2 separate regions of the Homo sapiens genome follow, and region 2 is linked to region 1. The links are contacts of gene promoters, found by promoter capture Hi-C in human tissues and cell types (Jung and others, 2019). All regions are on one chromosome and are shown on one strand. The core of a region is centred on a gene start or on the middle of the fragment in contact, and the rest is flanking DNA. Distances in the headings are between cores, read along the strand shown. Region 1 holds the start of POLA2 (DNA polymerase alpha 2, accessory subunit). Region 2 overlaps LOC124902693.

What was found. The method cuts DNA at HindIII sites, captures the fragments that hold promoters and counts their contacts. A contact is called where the count stands out against the background at its distance.
Region 2: a fragment that was not itself captured here is called in contact with the fragment with the promoter of POLA2 in region 1 in 2 of the 25 tissues and cell types used here (aorta and bladder).

What each region holds. Positions count from the first base shown.
Region 1 is chr11:65,259,571-65,264,236 of GRCh38, reverse strand. It overlaps POLA2 (DNA polymerase alpha 2, accessory subunit), which reads right to left and starts at 2,275. Exons shown (of 18, transcript NM_002689.4): 1 at 1,866-2,275. The coding sequence starts at 1,944. RefSeq lists enhancers at 1,364-2,249, 2,006-2,255, 2,250-3,137. The HindIII fragment of the contact is 14,798 bases long and covers 1-4,666 here.
Region 2 is chr11:65,819,420-65,824,085 of GRCh38, reverse strand. All of the region lies in intron 3 of LOC124902693, which reads left to right. Among named protein-coding and RNA genes, the nearest start is that of SNX32, 12 kb to the left of the region's middle. The HindIII fragment of the contact is 8,424 bases long and covers 1-4,666 here.

The sequences.
Region 1 (4,666 bases), core at 1,026-3,525:
AATTAGCCGGGCGTGGTGGCGGGAGCCTGTAATCCCAGCTACTCGGGAGGCTGAGGCAGGAGAACCGCTTGAACTCGGGAGGCAGAGGTTGCAGTGAGCCAAGATTGCACCATTGCACTCCAGCCTGGGCAATGAGAAACTCCATCTCAAAAAACAAAACAAACAACAACAAAAAAAACAGGGAAATACGGTTGACTGTCAGGAAACATTAAGGTGCCACTGAAGTTACTGATGATCCAAAGTCCACAATTCCAAAGCCATTGCCATGAGATGAAAGCAACTGGCATCTTGGCCTGAAGCCTTTACAAATCTGGTTCACATAACTAATTTCTCTCATGCTGATTTCATGCTTACCACATACATTTCTGACTATGATCAGGTTTTCCACTTAAGTCTTTTTTTTTTTTTTGAGACAGAGTCTCGCTCCTGTTGCCCAGGCTAGAGTGCAATGGTGTGATCTCGGCTCACCACAACCTCTGCCTCTCATGTTCAAGCGATTCTTCCGCCTCAGCCTCCTGAGTAGCTGGGATTACAGGCATGCGCCACCACGCCCGACTAATTTTGTATTTTTAGTAGAGACAGGGTTTCTCCATGTTGGTCAGGCTGGTCTCAAATTCTCGACTTCAGATTATCCACCTGCCTTGGCCTCCCAAAATGCTGGGATTACAGGCGTGAGCCACCACACCTGGCTAGTCTTCTTTTAAAAAGAGAAGGACCGAGCCTGCTGGCTTATGCCTGTAATCCCAGCACTTTGGAAGGCCAAGGTGGGTGGATCACTTGAGGTCAGGAGTTCGAGAGCAGTCTGGCCTACATGGTGAAACCCCTTCTCTACTAAAAGTACAAAAAAAAATTAGTCGGGCCTGGTGGCGGGCGCCTGTAATCCCAGCTACTTGGGAGGCTGAGGCAGGAGAATCGCTTGAACCTGGGAGGCGGAGGCTGAAGTGAGCCGAGATTGCACCACTGCACTCCAGCCTGGGTGATAAAACAAGACTGTCAAAAAAAAAAAAAAAAAAAAAGAGAGAGAGAGAAGGCACTGGGCATGAAGACTTGAAGTATTCTGGTTTCTGAAAGGAATTTCTCACCATAAATTAACGTTTCGTTATCTTTTTGTATATAAGAAGTTCAAAGTGTTGAGTGGTTAAGGCAGGTGCACATTCATACCGATTCTAGAACTTCCACATCTCCCAGGCTTTGCTTCAAATGACTCCTTACACTGCTCTACAGCTTGACCAACACGATGGACCCGTATGATGCAGCACGGGACTCCAAGGCAGGACACCTGGCTTCACAGACAGCTCAGGCAATTAGCTTTCCTTGTCTGTTTCTCCATCTGTAAAGCTCCCTAAAGCTCCTTCCACAGCTCAAATTCAATTTTAGGAACCTACCTCAAGGGATTCATATTTGCACAGACCACCAACAGCTATGATAAAATAACTGATGGATCAGCAGAGGTTTAAGGTGTAGGCTGGAAAGGGAGGAGCCAAGAATAAAAAGCTACATTTCAAAACCCCCACATCTGTTGCTTTGTTACCGGGGCTTCAACAATTTCCAAACTCAGGTGCCACCAGTGCCTAGTCTCTATCTAGCACATCCCAATTCCGCCTTTCGGGAACTTCGAGTTGGTTTAAAATCGTGCTGCATATTCCTATTTTTGATTTGGCATCCAAGCGGTACCCGGTGGGCATTTCAAAGTCCCCACATCCTAAATCTCAAAACTCAAGTTTGATTCTTCATCTCACAGCCACCGAGAACTCTGCTCCAGGGGAAGTGGAAATTGGAAGCGCTCCACTTTCGGTTCTAGGCGCCGAGGAACTCGGGCGAGAGCGTGGAGCACGGCTGCAGGGCGGGAGGGGTGCGGGACTCACATTTCTCAATTAGAGCCTCCTCGCAGTCTAGGCCGAAGATCTGCAGCTCCTCCGCCAGCTGCTGGGCGGATGCGGACATGGTCGCCCAAGCCAGGGGCCGGGGAGCCGGCCCACCCAGCTCCGACCTGCGCCCAAGAAGCCCACGGGGGTGGCGAGCGATGAGCTCCTCGCCCTCTTATCCTTCCCCCCTCCGCGGACCGTGACAGGAGGTGACTGGCCCAAGCAAGACCTCAGACCGTCAGAAGGCCCCGGCCGTCGGTCACAGAGAAATACTTTTTTTAAAAAATGAAGGGGTGGCTCCCAAACGCCCTGAATGGAGGGAGCAGAAATCTCGAGAGGACGCTCTCCTGGTGAGAACGTCCTGCTTCCCAAAAGCTACCGCTGAGCTTCTCAGTGACGGTGGCAGAACTGAGTGGCCGGAAAAACCCGCCAAATGGTTTGTGCAGTGCACGCATGCGCGAAACCGGGAGCCAACCCCAAACCTTCCCCTTGCTTTCCCCGGCTCATTCCGGAACCCCACGCGCGCACGCGCGGCCCAGGGCGCGTGCGCATCAGCGGGCGTGTGGGCGTCTCTACGCACGCGCCTGGCGGCCCGCCAGTCAGCAGCTGCGCAGTTCTCTCTCACGGCGCGAGAATGCCGGTTGTGACTCGCAACGCCCGGGAGTTGCCTACAAGGAAACTGAGTCTGTGTGCGGATGCCTGTTTTCTGGGCATCGGCTGCTCGATAAAACTCAGTGGCGCATGTTTGTCACCCTTTTGCCCTGTTCCGTGGTGCGCAGGCGTTGTCGTGCGCGTGCCTTCGACTATCTAAAACTTACTGTACCCCCTTCTCCATTCCCCTTGTCATCTCTGCCTGTTGTGCCCTTGGTTCATCCTAAAAGAATGGCTTCAGTAGGGAATCTGGTTGCCATGGTTATTATCGTGCTTATCACCGTGGTGCCAGCCACAGTGATGGGTATGTTTTCTGAATCTGGGGCATTTGGGGGGATATGAGGTGGGAAGGTGACGGATAATTTAGTTTTGGACACGTTAAGTTTGAGTGCCTCTGGGATTTCCAGGTAGAGATTCCCAGTGGGTGACTGGAGGCTTGGGAGTGAAGGTAGGTCACTCAAGGATAGAGTTTAGGGGTAAGATGAGAAGAGGGTTCTCCCCTTGAAATACACCGTAATTCTTTGAGCCAAAAATCTCAACCGTAGGCGTCATACAATGCTGGTGGGATGGTATAGAGCGTTTCGAGAAAACAATTTAGCAATATGTATCAGGAACCTTTAAAATGTCCATCCCAGGCCAGGTGCGGTCACTCACGCCTGTAATCCCAGCATTTGGGAGGCCGAGGCAGGCGGATCACTTTGTAGCAGGACGAGCCACAGACAAAACTCCTCAGACACCCGAGTTAAAGAAGGAAGGGGTTTATTCGGCTGGGGTCATCGGCAAGACTCCTGTCTCACCAGCCGAGCTCCCCGAATGAGCAATTCCTGTCCCTTTTAAGGGCTCACAACTCTAAGGGGGTGCGCCTGAGAGGGTCGTGATCAATTGAACAAGCAGGGGGTACGTGACTGGGGGCTGCATGCACCAGTAATTAGATCAGAACAAAACAGGATAGGGATTTTCACAGTGCTTTTCTATACAGTGTCTGTAATCTATAGATAACATAACTGATTAGGTCAGGGGTCCATCTTTACCAAGCCTAGGGTGTGAGGCCGGGCTGTCTGCTTGTGGATTTCATTTCTGCCTTTTAGTTTTACTTTTTCTTTCTTTGGAGGCAGAAATTGGGCGTAAGACAATATGAGGGGTGGTCTCCTCCCTTAACTTGAGCCCAGGAGTTCAAGATCGGCCTGGGCAACGTGGCGAAACCCCTTCTCTACAAAAAATTAGCGGGCGGTGGTGGCGGGTTCTTGTGATCTCAGCCACTCTGGGGGCTGAGGCTGGAGGAGCGCTTGAGTTCGGGAGGTCGAGGCTGAAGTGAGTCATGATCGCCTCACTGCACTCCAGCCTGGGCGACAGAGCAAGATCGTGTCTCAAAAAGCAAACAAAGGCCGGGTGCGGTGGCTCACGCCTGTAATCCCAGCACTTTGGGAGGTCGAGGCGGGAGGATCACGAGGTCAGGAGATCGAGACCATCCTGGCTAACACGGTGAAACCCCGTCTCTACTAAAAAAAAAAAAAAGAAAAAAAAAAGAAAGCCTAGCGTGGTGGCGAGCACCTGTAGTCCCAGCTACTTGGGAGGCTGAGGCAGGAGAACGGCGTGAACCCGGGAGGCGGAGCTTGCAGTAAGTCGAGATTGTGCCACTGCACTACAGTCTGGGCAACAGAGCGAGACTCCGCCTAAAAAAAAAAAAAAGCAAACAAAAACCGAAGTATGTGTGACCTCTAGTCAGCCAATGGCTGCTTGGCTGTATTTTGAATTTAGGCCTAGTTAGCCACTCCGGATCCATCATGAACCTCTTTTGGGGTTCACACCCTTAAGCCTCAAATATTTACTCTCTGGCTCTTTACGGAAAATGTTTGCAGTTTCCCACCATCAGCAATAACCAATGGATATCAAATGTGTTACATACATATTTTTCCCAACCTGTCTTTTAACTTTGTGGGTTTTTTTTTCTACCACACAACACTGTGCAATTCTTTTCCTGTATGGGTTTTAGGTTTCCTGCTTTGTTTAATAAGGTCTCCTCGACCTAAGCTTATGCAAATATTCTTCCAATTTTTGTTTTATTAATTTTACTTACGTTTTGCCTTTAGTTCGCTAATCCACCTAGAATTAATCTTATTTGTGATGTGAGGAAGGATTTAGCTTTGTTT
Region 2 (4,666 bases), core at 881-3,380, 560 kb before region 1:
AAGTCCCATTTAACAGAATTGGCTGATTAATGTGAATGGATGGTGAGGAATGAGGCGCCAGGCGCATGGATAGCAGTAGCTGACGTGAAATGCTTACTCTGCATTAGGCGTGTTACACACATTATCTCACTTAATCCCACAACCGCAATTGTATTACTATCCACATTTTATAGGTGGCATTGAAGCCCGTCAGAGTGGTCAATCGAAACGACATAGCTAGTATGTGTTGGTAGTAAGTGGTGGTGTGAGGAGGTTTTGGACCTATGTGGTAGCTCTACCAGCTGGCTGGGTCTTCAGTGCCATGTGATTGGGAGGTGAAGCGACCACCCTAGTCAGCAGTGAATGAATGGCGGATTCGGGCCAGAAGCCTGCTGGAACCATCTTCTGCTCCGGAGAGCTCACAGTTAGGTGGCTCTGATGCCACATCGGCCATAGATGTGTTATGTTTGCCCCAAAGAATATTTTAAGACCATGTTTAGAATTAATTGGTACCTTTTTAAAATGCAGAGATTCACATTAAAGAGTGAGTTTCTGGCTTTTCTTGGAAAATGAGAAGATCTGGCCACACTGGGCCCATATAGGAACTGGAGTTGCCTCTCTCTGTTTCCTTCAGCTGGGGCCTGTGCCCCCCTGTTGGCCAGGCCCCACTGGCCTGCCTGGGGTCCCTGCCACCTCCGCAGGCACCTGGGTCTGCCTTTCTGCTGTTCTGTCACGAGGTGTGCCACTCAGCTTGGCTTTGAAGCCAGGCTGTGTTTGTGCATTGAATGCACGCCAAGCCCAGGCCTCCACTGATGGCTAAATACCTTTTCTGAATTGTAGGCAATATAAGATAAAAACGTGCTGCGGGAAGTGAGAAAAACTACATGCCCCCCCATGCTGAGTGCCCACAGGAGGCGCACGGGTAGTGCAGGAAAAAGGCAAATGGCCATAGTTCCTGAAACCAGCATAAATTAAAACAAAATACAAATCATACCCTGGCAAATGGCAAGTAACAGCCTATTGCCAGTATGCGAATCACGTTGTGATTTTTTAAAATTTGTTTTGTAATAAATAATTTGTTTGAATTTTGAGCTGCGTACTTTGGACATATGATAAGGAAGCTGTGGGGGAAGATTGTGTGTGTGTGTGTGTGTGTGTGCACACGCGCGCACCTGTGCATGTTTATGGGGGTGTGGACCACAGTTTACAAAGCTTGGAGTTTTCTATAGAAATTCAGTTTCAGAGTCTGGGTGCAGTGGCTCACACCTATAATCCCAGCACTTTAGGACACCGAGGTGTGCAGATTGCTCGAGTCCAGGAGTTTGAGAGCAGCCTAGGTAAATGGCAAAACCGCGTCTCTGCAAAATATACAAAAATTAGAGGGTCCTGGTGAACCACGCCTGTAGTCCCAGCTACTCGGGAAGCTGGTGTGGGAGGATCACTTGAGCCCGGGAGGTGGAGGTTGCAGTGAGCCGAGATTGTGCTACTATGCTCCAGCCTGGGTGACAGAGCGAGACCATGAAAAAAAAAAAAAGGAAAAAAGGAAGGAAGGAAGAAAGGAAGGAAAGAAGGAAAGAAACAAACTTCACTTTCAGAACATTTTTTCAAGACCAGCCTGGCCAACATGGTGAAACCCCATCTCTATTAAAAATACAAAACTTAGCCAGGCATGGTGGCGGGTGCCTGTAATTCCAGCTACTTAGGAGGCCAAGGCAGGAGAATCACTTGAACCCAGGAAGCGGAGGTTGCAGTGAGCCAAGATTGCACCTTTGTGCTCCAGCCTGGGTGACAAGAGTGAAATTCGGTCTCAAAAAAAAAAAGAACATTTTAATAAACTTTTATGATTAAAGGGTGAAAACATGTTTCTGTACCATAACGTTCAAATGTGAGGTCCACACTGGCAAACAGGTATTTATCTGTATTAAATATTATGTTCCATTTAAAGTATAACAATAATTCTCCGTGCCCATGGTCAGGTTGGGCAAATGACCACATTTCATGCTTGTGTGAGTTTTTGTTTGCAATCTGTATACTGCCCTTAGAGATACAGGTTCAAACAGGTGCAGGAAGCAGAGCTGCCAGCAAAGTGCAGGAGTCGACTCTTTTTCTTTTCTTTTCTTGCTTTTTTTTTTTTTTTTTTTTTAGCCAGAGTCTCGCTCTGTCACCCAGGCTGGAATGCAGTGGCTTGATCTCAGCTCACTGCAACCTCCACCTCCCGGGTTCAAGCAATTCTCCTGCCTCAGCCTCCCAAGTAGCTGGGAATACAGGTGTCTGCCACCATGCCCGGCTAATTTTTGTATTTTTAGTAGAGATGGGGTTTCACCATGTTGTCCAGGCTTGTCTCAAACTCCTGACCTCAGGTGATCCACCTGCCTTGGCCTCCCAAAGTGCTGGGGTTACAGGTGTGAGCCACTGCGCTCGGCCTCTAGACTCTTAATCTATGTTCTTTGAGTTACACCTGACAACTTTCCATCACACCTGGCTGCCTGGCTCAGGAACTGGAGGAAGGCGGCCAGTGCTGGCCAGGAATTTCTCAGAGGCCACTGGACAGTATTATGGAGTGGCCCCTGCCCCTCAGAGGCTCACTGTCCATAGCACAGGGGTCATCCATCCTGTCAGACCATGCTGACCCCACTCACGAGAGGCTAGCCCTGCAAGTTCTCCCCTGGGAACAGGAAGTAATCGTGCGAGGTTTACATGGCAGATCAGCTTGGTCTCGGGAGCTATTTCTACACAAATCACGTGGGGCTCAGAAGGCCATGCTCTGCTGCTCCCTGGACTCTGGCCCCTGTCCTGCGTGTCCTCCTTCCTCTGGTCCTCAGAGACTCCCCGTTCCCTGCCATATGCACACTTAGGGTGGGACCGGGATGTGCACTGTAGCCAGTTCTGTTCTTGTTTGTGTTGCTCAGAATCCATTGTTTCTTACTGATGCAGATCAGTGCCTAATACTAGGTGTCCAGCACCATGCTGGGAGCCAGGGATACAACAGACAGGTGCCTCCCTGGGGGATAAGTGGAGCACACGCAGGTAATAATCAGTGAACTGGGTAGCGCTTTGTTACAGGCCTCTCACAACTGGTATTTTATCTCCATCATATTGTAATTTTGTTTTTGTGGTGTGACCTAAAAAGCCTTGGATCCTCAAAAGATCTGGCCAAGTTCATGGTAAAGTTATTATTCCTTTAACAAATGCATTCATTTAACAATATTTATTAAGCACCTATTATTTGTCAGGTACCATTCCAGATGTCAGGATTATAACAGAGAACAAAACTGACAAATAGCACTGTTCTCTTGGTGCTTACATTGTTGTGGAAGGAGACAAAAAGAAATAATGTCAATATAATATGTCCTAAGAATTTTAAAGAAAAACTCAAGCAGGGTAAGGGAGAGAGAATGACGATGGGGAGGAGGGCCGCTCTTTGAGGAAGGCCCTTCTGGTGACCCTTGAAGCAGAGCCCAGCAAGAGGGGAGGGGGAAGCTGTGGTTTGGAGGAAGTCTTTTCATAGCGGGGAGCCTCAAGGGCAGAGCCCCCGAGGGGGAGTGTGCCCTACCTGTTGGAAGGAAGCCACTGATCTGCAATCCTGTTTTCCTCGTCTGCAAATTAATGGGCTTGTTGGGAGGGACAAATGAAATCATTTATATGAAAACATTTATGTCAACTGTAGAACACTCTATAAAAGTTATTCTCTTTATGTTGACTTCATCAAGTATTTGCAGTGTCTAAAGCAGGAATGATCATAATGATTATATTACAATTCTGCCCTTTCATTTTTTTTATTGAGGTGAAATGCATATAACATATAATTAATCATTTTATAGCCTACAATTCAGTGGCATTTGGTGCATTCACAATGTTGTGCAACCACCACCGCTTTCTATTTAAAAACCTTTTTCATCATCCCCACCTTTTCTTTCTTTTCTTTTTAAAATAGAGATGGTGTCTCCCTACATTGCCCAAGCTGGATTAGAACACCTGGGCTCAAGTGATCCTCCAACCTCAGTCTCCTGAGTAGCTGGGATTATAGGCACTCACCACTGTGCCTGGCCTTTCATTTTTATTTTATTTTATTTTATTAATTATTATTATTATTTAGAGACAGGATCTCACTCTGTTGCTCAGGCTGGAATGCGGTGGTGTGATCATGGTTCCCTGCGGCTTCCACCTGCTGGGCTCAAGCAATCCTCCCACCTCAGCCTCCCAAATAGCTGAAACTATAGACATACGCCACAGTGCCTGGCTAATTTTTGTATTTTTTGCAGAGCCGTGGTTTCATCTTGTTGCCCAGGCTGGTCTTGAACTCCTGGGCCTAAGTGATCCTCCTACCTTGGCTTCCTCCAGTGCTGGTATTACAGGCGTGAGTCACTGTGCCTGGCCTTTTTTATTTTTATTTTTTGACACAGAGTCTCACTCTGTCACCAGGTAGGACAGTGGTGCAATCTCGGCTCACTGCAACCTCTGCCTCCCAGGGTTAAGAGAGTCTTATGCCTCAGTCTCCTCAGTAGCTGGGATTACAGGTGCACACCACCACGCCCAGTTAATTTTTTTCTATTTTTAGTAGAGACAGGGTTTTACCATGTTGGCCCCACTGGTCTGGAACTCCTGGCCTCAAGTGATTCACCTACCTCGGCCTCCCAAAGTGCTAGGATTACAGGAATGAGCCACTGCACCCGGCCTTTGGCCTCAT